Regions from separate parts of the Homo sapiens genome. Here regions 1 and 2 are each linked to region 3. The links are contacts of gene promoters, found by promoter capture Hi-C in human tissues and cell types (Jung and others, 2019). All regions are on one chromosome and are shown on one strand. Each heading gives the region's core, a stretch centred on a gene start or on the middle of the fragment in contact. The rest is flanking DNA. Distances are from core to core; before and after follow the strand shown. Region 1 has its middle 7.9 kb from the start of LINC01433. Region 2 overlaps SMOX (spermine oxidase). Region 3 holds the start of PANK2 (pantothenate kinase 2).

What was found. Contacts are between HindIII fragments. The study calls those that stand out against the background at their distance.
Region 1: a fragment that was not itself captured here is called in contact with the fragment with the promoter of PANK2 in region 3 in 1 of the 25 tissues and cell types used here (IMR-90 fibroblasts).
Region 2: a contact is called between a fragment that was not itself captured here and the fragment with the promoter of PANK2 in region 3, in 2 of the 25 tissues and cell types used here (hippocampus and small bowel).

The regions. Positions count from the first base shown.
Region 1 is chr20:4,199,100-4,202,958 of GRCh38, forward strand. No RefSeq gene overlaps it. Among named protein-coding and RNA genes, the nearest start is that of LINC01433, 7.9 kb to the left of the region's middle. RefSeq lists a silencer at 2,980-3,180. The HindIII fragment of the contact is 3,341 bases long and covers 1-3,119 here.
Region 2 is chr20:4,183,003-4,186,498 of GRCh38, forward strand. SMOX (spermine oxidase) reads left to right here. Exons shown (of 7, transcript NM_175839.3): 6 at 492-652. Among named protein-coding and RNA genes, the nearest start is that of LINC01433, 8.3 kb to the right of the region's middle. The HindIII fragment of the contact is 6,680 bases long and covers 1-3,496 here.
Region 3 is chr20:3,887,807-3,891,373 of GRCh38, forward strand. PANK2 (pantothenate kinase 2) reads left to right here and starts at 1,581. Exons shown (of 7, transcript NM_001386393.1): 1 at 1,581-1,922. The coding sequence starts at 1,625. PANK2-AS1 (PANK2 antisense RNA 1) reads right to left here and starts at 1,367. Exons shown (of 2, transcript XR_001754478.3): 1 at 933-1,367; 2 at 1-743. RefSeq lists an enhancer at 656-1,207 and silencers at 1,216-1,275, 1,466-1,965. The HindIII fragment of the contact is 29,664 bases long and covers 1-3,567 here.

The DNA of each region.
Region 1 (3,859 bases), core at 199-2,698, 310 kb after region 3:
CCTGCATTATGAGTTTTTGGCTTTGCCCAGGAAAGAATTCAAGGGTGAGCTGGTGGTGTTAGACAGCGACTTTTACTGAAGTGGCAGTGCACAGCAGTAGCAAAGGCACAGTTCCTTGTGGGGCAGGGCTACCCCACAGGCAGTGTGCCCAGAGGAGCAGCTCAGAGGCAGTTCTGCAGTCATTTTTTTTTTTTTTTTTGAGACGGAATCTTGCTCTGTCGCCCAGGCTGGAGTGCAATGGCACAATCTCGGCTCACTGCAAGCTCCGCCTACCGGGTCACGCCATTCTCCTGCCTCAGCCTCCCGAGTCGCTGGGACTACAGGCGCCCACCACCACGCCCGGCTAATTTTTTGTATTTTCAGTAGAGACGGGGTTTCAACATGTTAGCCAGGATGGTCTCGATCTCCTGACCTCGTGATCCGCCCGCCTCGGCCTCCCAAAGTGCTGGGATTACAAGCGTGAGCCACCGCGCCCAGCCTGCAGTCATATTTATACCTACTTTTAACTACATGCAAATTAAGGGGGTGGATTTTGCAGACATTTTTAGGAAAAAGGTGATAACTTCTGGATCATTGGGTGGTTGCCATGGAAAGGGGTGGTAACTTTCAGGTGTTGCCATGGCAATGGTAAACTGACATGGCACACTGATGGACATGTCTTACGGAGGGATGCTTTTGTCTCTTCCTGTTTCAGCTAGTTCTCAATTTGGTGTGGTGTCCTAGCCCCACCTGTGGAGTCAAGTCCCACCTCCTACCTCAATCAGAACCTGAGTTTTTTTCCAACACGAGCTCCAGGTGAGTTGATTGCACAGTAAAGTCTGAGATGTGCTGTTTACACCACTGGTTCCTCATCTTGGCATAAGGATCATTTGGGGAGATTTAAGAAACCAACAACTCAGTGTTCCTGGCTTAACTTAGAGTTGTGGTTCCTGCCCTTGACTGCACATTGAATCACCTGGGAGCTTTAAAAGCCATGGGTGACCAGGCGCAGTGGCTCATGCCTGTAATCCCAGCACTTTGGGAGGCTGAGGTGGACAAACCACCTGAGGTCAGGAGTTCGAGACTAGCCTGGCCAACATGGTGAAACCCCCGTCTCTACTAAAAATGCAAAAATTAGGCCAGGCACAGTGGCTCACGCCTGTAATCCCAGCACTTTGGGAGGCCCAAGTGGGTGGATCTTCTGAGGTTTGGAGTTCAAGACCAGCCTGGCCAACATGGTGAAACCCCGTCTCTACTAAAAAAAATACAACAAATTAGCTGGGCGTGGTAGTGGGAGCCTGTAATCCCAGCTACTCAGGAGACTGAGGGAGGATGATCGCTTGAACCCGTGGGGTGGAGGTTGCAGTGAGCCGAGGCTGCGCCATTGCACTCCAGCCTGGGCAACAAGCGCGAAACTCCATCTCAAAAAAAAGAAAAAAAAATTAGCTGGGTGTGGTGGCGCATGCCTGTAATCCCAGCTACTCAGGAGGCTGAGGCAGGAGAACCACTTGAACCCAGGAGGTGGAGGTTGCAGTGAGCCAAGATCGCGCCATTGCACTACCAGCTTGGGCGATAAGAGCAAAAAAAAAAAAAAAAAAAAAAAAAGAAAAGCCATGGATGCCCAGGGCCACCCCTAGAACTGGTTTGAATTGGTCTTTCCCCTGTGTTCTTCAATGTAGGCAGCAACTCCTGCCTCTAATTCCATCAGGGGCCACCTTTTCCTACCATAATGGCTTTCATTTCACAAGTCAGGGGGCCAAAGAGATGAGCTTGACTGTTGCGAACGATATCTGCCTTTGCTCTTCAGGCAGGAACTGGGGAACTAACCCTGCAGGGGTTCAGATTTCTTGGGCTACTGCAAGACAGCCTTCGGTCAAAGCTCCATTAACTTACTAGCTACATGGCCCCCACTGTGATCAGTGTTTTTTAATCTCTGAAAGGTTTTTTTTCCTACCTAGTGAACAATCACACAGATACTTTTGTAGAACGAAGATGTTTACAAAACAAAGCATGTGGGGCAAGTGTACCCAGCCTTCCTTTTATTCAAGAGGTTCTGGGACAGTGAACTTACCCAGATTAATCAATTTCACGGGGTATGCCATATTTTAGGAATAACTTTTTGGACAATTTGTCCGCACGTCTATTTCCTTAAACTTGCCATTTTATGTCCTTGCACAGTTATTATGTTACAATATATTCTCCACCATCAAATTTTCACACTTCCAGGATTCAATAAAAAAGCTTAGCAATGCCTGTGAGGCATGAAGATTACCTTCTGAATCATCAAAGAGAGATGTTTTTTTCTTTCTTTTTTTTGAAATGGAGTCTCACTCTGTCACCCAAGCTGGAGTGCAGTGGCCTATCTTGGCTCACTGCAACCTCCGCCTCCCGGGTTCAAGTGATTCTCCTGCCTTAGCCTCTGGGAGCAGCTGGGATTACAGGCACGCTGCACTATGCCTGGCTTTTTTTTTTTTTTTTTTTTTTATTTTTAGTAGGGATAGGGTTTCATCATGTTGGCCAGGCTGGTCTGGAACTCCTGACCTCAAGTTGTCCACCCCCCTCTGCCTCCCAAAGTGATGGGATTATAGGTGTGCCCAGCCTGAATCATCATAGACAGATTTGATTAGGAACCATTGCTATATCCTAAATCTCTTTGGTCTATGATTCTTTCTCATTTTTACTTCAACTTTTTTTTTTTTTCCCAGACAGGCTGTTGCTCTGTCCCCCAGTCTGGAGTGCAGTGGTGTGATCATGGCTCACTGCAGCCTCAATCTTCTGGGCTCAAGCCATCCTCCCACCTCAGCCTCCTGAGTAGCTGGGGCCACAGGCATGCACCACCACACCTAGCTAATTTTTAAAATTATTTCTAGAGTGAAGGTCTCACTGTGTTGCCCAGGCTTCCACTTTGAACTCCTGGGCTCAAGCAGTCCTCCTGACTTGGCCTCCCAAAGTGTTAGGATTACAGGCATGAGACACTGCACCTGGCCTTTCTTCAACTTTGTATACTGAAACATAGCATACAGAGTGCAGGACAGTTCTCCTGGTGGCCTTGGACCAACCCAGCTCTTCCCCCTTTCTTGCTTGTAGTTCTCAAAATAACTGTAGAATGTGCTGGGAATGTAACATCCTGTGATAAGGAGGGATTGGCTGCAACTGCCTGCGCTCTGTTCCAGTCCTTGTCAGAAACAGGATGTCCTGTCTGGGCTCGGTGGCTCACGCCTGTAATCCCAGCACTTTGGGAGGCTGAGGTGGGTGGATCACCTGAGGTCAGGAGTTCAAGACCAACCTGGCCAACATGGTGAAACCCCGTCTCTACTAAAATACAAAAAATTAGCCTGGTGTGATGTTGGACGCCTGTAATCCCAGCTACTTGGGAGGCCAGGCAGGGAAATCGCTTGAACCTGGGAGGCGGAGGTTGCAGTGATCCGAGATCGTGCCACTGCACTCCAGTCTTGACCACAGAACGAGACTCCGTCTCAAGAAAAAAAAAAAAAAAAGAAACAGGATGTCCTTCAACACTTTAGTCCAGTGAATCATGTATCTCCGGGGTATAAAGCCCAGGTGGGCTGCTTCTTGGGAGCCCTCAGCTGCAGTGCAAGTGGGGCATGCACAGTTGAGACTCCATCTGCCCCAGGCTGCTTTCCTGAGCCTTAGGTGACCAGCTCACAATGAACCCTAGGCTTCTGTTATCCCTTGGTGCCTATCTGTAAGTAATAGATCCTCTTCATGTAACTTGTTGCATATGTGGGTGTTTTGTCTCACTGGACTCAGACAAGTTGGTAACTAAGTGCACAGTGAACCTGCTTCATGGAGATAATTACTCAAAATATAAATGTGTGATGAATTATCAGAGTGAACAGCTTTGTGCCATGAGGCAGGT
Region 2 (3,496 bases), core at 101-2,600, 290 kb after region 3:
AAGGCTCTTCAGTTGCTGACAGTTTAGAACTTGACACACTCAGAATTATGGGCGCTGTGTCTCTTCCCCCTTTCTAAAGGCTGATGGTAAAACACTCAGAGATCACCGCCCATTGTGCTCTGTTGCTAAGAGCTGGATTTGCCTTTTACTCTCTGAGTCTTTCAGCTCAACATTTTTCACCCACTATTCCAGGAGGACCTCACGAGAACCCCCGATATTAGGCGGGGAAACATGATTATGTGTCATGTGTTTTCAGATAGATAGGAAAAGTAAGGTGGAGCGTTTTGCCGGGGGTCACAGGAGGCGCTGAGTGGGTACACAGCTCGAGCCCCAGCCTCCCTCCTTCCTCTTCTATCCTCCGTGCCTACCCCTGGCAGTCTGGTCCTCCCGGAGCCCTGGAGGTGGGGTGGGGGGTTGTCCCTTTGGGGTCATCTTCCATATGCAGCCATTTCTTATCCTCCCTCCTCTTGGCTTTTCTGACTCTCCATCAGGGAACCCCAACATTCCAAAACCTCGGCGAATCTTGCGCTCGGCCTGGGGCAGCAACCCTTACTTCCGCGGCTCCTATTCATACACGCAGGTGGGCTCCAGCGGGGCGGATGTGGAGAAGCTGGCCAAGCCCCTGCCGTACACAGAGAGCTCAAAGACAGCGGTAAGCGGGGCGTTTGGGGTGAGGAGGGGAGTTGTGGGTGTATTTTGTATGTGTGTCCGGTCCAGGGTGAGGAGGGCTAGGGTAGTGTTCACTAAGGGGTGCTCAGGTGAGGCAGGGATGGAGTAGCTTCTGTAATGAGAGAGAACACAAGGAAAAAAGTGTGCACTTAATATCTGGAAGAAAAAATGGAATCAAATTGAAACTTAAAATGTTTTCTTGATGTTATGAAAACTGAGCTATTCCATGCTGTGCTGGCCAATACGGTAGCTATCAGCCACTTTCAATTTAAATTAATTTATTAAAAATTTAAATTAATACAGTATTTTTTTTTTCTTTTTTGAGACAGGGTCTTGCTCTGTCTACACTTCAGGCTGGGGTATAGTGGTGTGATCACAGCTCACTGCAGCCTTGACCTCCTGGGCTCAAGTGATCCTCCCACCTCAGCCTCCCAACTAGCTGGGACCACAGGCATGCCGGCACGCCACCATGTCCAGCTAATTTTTGTACTTTTTTTTTTTTTTTGGTAGAGATGGGGTTTCATCATACTGCTAGGCTGGTCTTGAACTCTTGGGCTCAAGCTGTCCTCCCGCCTCAACCTCCTGAAGTGCTAGGATTATAGGAATGAGCCACCACACTTGGCCAATACAGTAAAGTTTTTGTTCCTTGGTTGCACTAGTCACATTTCAAGTTCAACAGCCACATGTGGCTAGAGGTTACCATAGTAAAGTACATAGCGATAGGAATGTCCTATTGGACAGCACTGATTCAATGGAAATGTTTTCCCAATATATTTCAGAAAATAAAGTTTAGATTACTGATGCTCCACAATATGCCAACTGTACACTAAAAAAAAAAAATCTGAAATATATATTTATGCTCCCATAAAGTGGATTTTGAGTTTCCCCCATCAAGTAGACACACACAGTAAATGTTAAAACTCAACAGTTATATTTAAAACAATTATTTGGTATAATTGGTGAAGAAGAGTTCAGTCAACCAGCATCTACTATGCCTGCCCAACGGTGCTCAGATGGAGAGAGAAAAGGGCTGGTGTTTAAAGAGAGAGAGGTCCTCAGAAAGGCCCTTTCTGCTGCCACAGCCATCCTCCTAAAAAGCAAATCTTCTCTTTTCACTTGCATCAGTTAGGACTAGTGCATGTAGCAAAAAGCAAAGCAAAGCAAACACAACTGTGACTTAAACAAGGAAAATCAAAAGGAAATCTGGAGGCAGGCAGCAGGATCCCGTATCATTAGCACCTGGCTCTCATCTTCAAGACCATCTTGTGGTCCAAGAGGGCTGCAGAAGCTCCAGTTCTCACATCTGCATCTTAGGCTAGAAGGAAGAGGAAAGGCAGATGGCAAGAAGGGAACCCTTGGAGCTGAGTCAGCTGTGTCTCTAAGCAACAGTGCACTTTAATGCTTATTGGCCAGAACATAGACACATGACTGCACCTAGCTGCTACAGAGGCTGGGCAGTATCATTTTTATTCTGGATGGCAATGGACCCAGTTAAAAATCAGGACTTTGTTATTGAGGAGAAAGAGGAGAATGGTTGGATGTGGGAGTGGTCCCAGCTACTTGGGAGGCTGAGGTGGGAGGATCACTTGAGCCCAGGAGGTCAAGGCTGACACAGTATACAACACCCCTTTCAGTGTAACAGCCTCTGTGGGCTCCTTGGTGGTGGGATTACAGCCTCACTACTCAGGGTAGGTAGATCAGTACCAGCCTCACCTGGGAGCTAGTTAGAAATGCAGATTCTCAGCCTGGCCAACATGGCGAAACCCTGTCTCTACTAAAAATACAAAATTAGCCAGGCATGGTGGTGCACACCTGTAGTTCTAGCTACTTGGGAGGCTGAGGCATGAGAATTGCTTGAAGCTGGGAGGCGGAGGTTGCAGTGAGTTGAGATCATGCCATTGCACTCCAGCCTGGGTGACAGAGCGAGACCCTGTCTCAAAACAAAAACCAAAAAACAACAACCCCTGGCGCCCTAAACACACACACACACAAATAAATAAATAAATAAAAAGAAATGCAGATTCTCAGCCTGGCCAACATGGCGAAACCCTGTCTCTACTAAAAATACAAAATTAGCCAGGCATGGTGGTGCACACCTGTAGTTCTAGCTACTTGGGAGGCTGAGGCATGAGAATTGCTTGAAGCTGGGAGGCGGAGGTTGCAGTGAGTTGAGATCATGCCATTGCACTCCAGCCTGGGTGACAGAGCGAGACCCTGTCTCAAAACAAAAACCAAAAAACAACAACCCCTGGCGCCCTAAACACACACACACACAAATAAATAAATAAATAAAAAGAAATGCAGACTCTCAGCCCACCCCAGACCTGCTGGATTAAAAACTGCATTCTGGCCAGGGATGCAGGCTCCTGCCCATAATCCCAGCACTATGGGAGGCCGAAGTGGGAGGATGGCTTGAGCTCAGGAGTTCAAGACCAGCCTGGGCAACAAAGTAAGACCTCCATCTCAACAAAAAATTTAAAAAAAAATTAGCCAGGTGTGGTGGTGTGTGCCTGTAGTCCCAACTACTTAGGAGGCTTAGATGGGAGGATTGCTTGAGCCCAGGAAGTTGAGGCTGCAGTGGAGCTGTGATCATGTTACTGCACTCCAACTGGGGCAATAGAGTGAGACACTGTCTCAAAAATAATAAATAAAAACTGCATTTTATCAGGATCCACAGCTGGTGCCTTGCACCTTGAATTTGAGAGGAACTAGGATAAAGTCCAAATGCAAACTTGGGGTGCAAGAACTTGTACCTTGCCTAGACCTCACCTAGACAGCCTGCTTTCTCAAGGCCGAGCCCTGGCTGTACCAAAATTCTCACTGTCCC
Region 3 (3,567 bases), core at 331-2,830:
GTTCATCTTGCCAGCCAAGGGATGATGATACTTTGATTCTTCAGGATGATCAGAGCTCAGACTTGGACGGAAGCTCCCTCAGGTCAAGGAGGACCACATTTTTTGGGGGGTGGAGAGAGGAGGCAGAAAGAGAGGCAATGTCAGGCACTGAGATTTAGAAGAGTAGCTATAGCTGTTTTTGGTTCTTGTAGATCCGTCTGTGTTGGCTTCCTACAGGAGCTAGAATTTTCAGAGCTAGTCCTACAGTGAGGGGAGCTAACGTGGAGTGGGCGTGAGAATTCTATTCAGCAAGCACAAGCGAAGCTCAACCTTTTTGTTCAGCCTGCTACAACCAATCATTATGGGAGAGGGGAATAAGGATCACTGCCCAAGGGGCATTAGGATCACTGCCCAGTGGGCATTACAGTCTCCCCAGGGAGGCACTCTTTTTTATTTTTTATTTTTTTTGAGACGGAGTTTCGCTCTTGTTGCACAATGTTGGGTCACTGCAGCCTCCGCCACCCGGGTTCAAGCAATTTTCCTGCCTCAGCTTCCCAAGTAGCTGGGATTATAGGCATGGGCCACCACGCCCCGCTAATACGGAGGCACTTTTAATTAGCCCACAGTCCAGTGAAATTTGACGGAGTGAGGAAGTGACCTCAGAGTACAGAACGGGATGGGATCCTTCCGGGCTTGGGCAGCCTTTGGTAGTGGGGATGCTTGGAAGGGTCAGGGTCTCAGTCCTGGAGGTGACCAATTTTTCTCTCCAAAAGAGAAAGGAAGATGATTAAAAAAAAAATCCATGCTCCAAAGCGGCAGCCAAATCCTTCTATGGCCCCCAATGCATCACCCAGAAAGGGGCTCCAGACTCTCCTGCAAAAGGCCAACTCTACTTCCCGGCTCCCACTTCCCCTCCTTCGCCACAGGAGGGTGGCGAAGGATTTATAACCCACCTCTTTCTTTCAGTTGCCATGGAGACAAGCCCCAGTCCTTTCATTCCTTCTGGTACCTCTCTCTCCAACGCAGGCGGAAAGGAGGCGGCTTAGCCCAAACATGCTGGGGGAGGGGCTGGCGGCCTCGACGGCAGCTGCGGAACTAGGCCGAGGGACAAAGGCTAAGGTCAGCCGCGGTTCAAGCCCTTTCGTCTGCCGACGACCAGCGGCCAGACGCTGCGGGAGCACTGCTGGGCTGGAGGAGGGCTCGAGCTGCGAGGACGGCACGGAGCAGCGGGGTGGGACTCGGGGTCGCCCCAGGAGAGTTCCGCGGCCCGGGGGGGCAGAGGCATGCACAAGTGGGGGGCGGAAGGAGGGGGTGGATGAGGAGGCTCGGGCCCTTCCACCCACGCGTCCATTGGGCGGCGCCGCCATCACTCTCTTCTGGGCTACACCGCCTTCTCTTCCTCCGCGGAACCCGGATCCCCTCCTCCACCACCCTCTCCCCGCCCCGTCACGATAGCCTCTCATTGGACGGAGGCACGGTCAATCCTCCTCGAGTTAGGGAGCCGACTGGACGCGAGGCCTTTGGGCCGTCCCCAGCCTCGTCGGATTGGCTTCCTGCGCGTTGGCGCAACGGAAGAGGCGGCCGGCCGAGGGCGCGCCTCTGCTCTGGCTGGACTGCCGCGGAGGAGGCGAGAAGGAATCCGACGCTGGGGGGCTTGCTCGGGCGGCAGCGACTGCTGCTGCGGATGGGAGGGGGCCGGCTCGGCGCGCCCATGGAGCGCCACGGCAGGGCTTCCGCCACCTCCGTCTCGTCGGCTGGGGAGCAGGCGGCCGGGGACCCCGAAGGGCGGCGGCAGGAGCCACTGCGGCGCCGGGCGAGCAGCGCGTCGGTGCCCGCGGTCGGGGCCTCGGCTGAGGGCACGAGGCGGGATCGACTGGGCTCTTACAGCGGCCCCACCTCGGTCTCCCGCCAGCGCGTCGAAAGCCTGAGGAAAAAGCGGCCGCGTAAGTGTTCCGTGGGGCGCCCTCCCGGCCCGCCCTGCCCCCCCTTCCGGCCCACCCTGTCCCCTTCCGGCCCCGCCGCCGTTTTTCCCGCGCGCGGACACTGTCCCCGCACGGTGGTCCCTCGTTGGTGCGTGGCCTGACATCCGGCTGGAGGCCTCGGGTGCTCCGAAAGCGGTACCTTCGGGGGCCCCCCCGCACCCATTGGTATGCACTTCCCGCTTGTTGGAGTGGAGGGCTTTTCCCCAGGACCTGTCCTCCCTTTTCTTAGCTCCTTGGGCATTCTCTTCCTGAGGGTCACATGATTTTATCCTCGAGAAGGCTTCTTTTGACTCATTTCCACCTCCTTTCCTCCCAAATCCTTTGAATCCCCAATGTTTGTTTTCCGTGGGTTTCCAAAGAGCTGCTCTCTAATACTTTAAGTCCCTTTTATTCGTCAATTTCGGGCTTACTGGAAAATGGTGAACTGCCCCTTGAGTTGCACCAGGCCTGAAACTGTATTCCGTGCACCTCTAAGGTGGCTGCCCTTCTTCTCGTGAGAATCCAGGTCATCTCTCACCCACATATCCCCTCCGTTTTCCTTCTGTCTATTTGCAGGTACTCACGATTCAGAACTGTGGCATTCTGGGCATTAAGGCTCTTTGTTTTGAGGGGAAACAACATCTTTCTGAATTTTGCCTTGGGAGTTGCATACGCTCCTCCCAGAGAATCCGTTTCCCCATTTTATTAGGTTTCTTTTTCTGTGTTGTGTATTTTCTCCCCTTTACAAGTCTTCAATTCAGGACCGCTGCCTGGCAGCCATTGCTGCTGTTGAAAGTATCAATTGTCCTGATACTGTAATATGAGCTTTACAGTGTGATGCCATTTTACATATGGTTGGACTTTTTGGTGGGTGTTGCCAGATTCCTATTTCAGGAAATTGACTTGTTTAAATGCAGATTGTGAGAGGGAGGGAAAATGGCAAGATGTGAGATTTTTATTGAATAGTCTTCTACCTTAGCCCAGTCACCCAACTGCTTTTTTGAATCTTCTCTGATATGGATGATTAAATGTAGTTCTATTTTGCTGTGAAAAGTTTGGGAGTTTTCAGTTCTTTTGTCTTTTTCCATCTTCTTGCAACAGATTTGGAAAACAGATTCTTAACCTGTGCCATTTTCAGAGTCAGTCACCTAGTTTTGTTTTATTTGAGAAGCACCTGAGTTTGAAGCAATGCAAAATATGAGATCCTTCATGGTTTTGTATTACATCGTTGGAAATGGATGTAAATTCCAAAGATTCAGCAAATAAGAGTATAGCCATTAGCCACAAGGGTTTTTTTGGTTTGTTTTTTGTTTTTTACTTTGAGACAGCGTCTTGTTCTGTTGCCCAGGCTGAAGTGCAGTGGCATGATCATGGCTCATTGTGGCCTTAACCTCCTGGGCTCAAGCCATCCTCCTGCTTCAACCTCCTGCATTGCTGGGACTAAAGGCACGTGCCACTATGCCAGGCTAATTTTTCAATTTTTATTTTTTTAAATAGAGATGGGATCTCTTATGTTGCCCAGGCTGGTCTTGAATTCCTCCTGGTCTCAAGCGATCTTCCCACTTCGGCCTCCCAAAGTGCTGGGATATAGACGGGAGCCATTGTGCCCGACCTGGCAGTCGTCTAC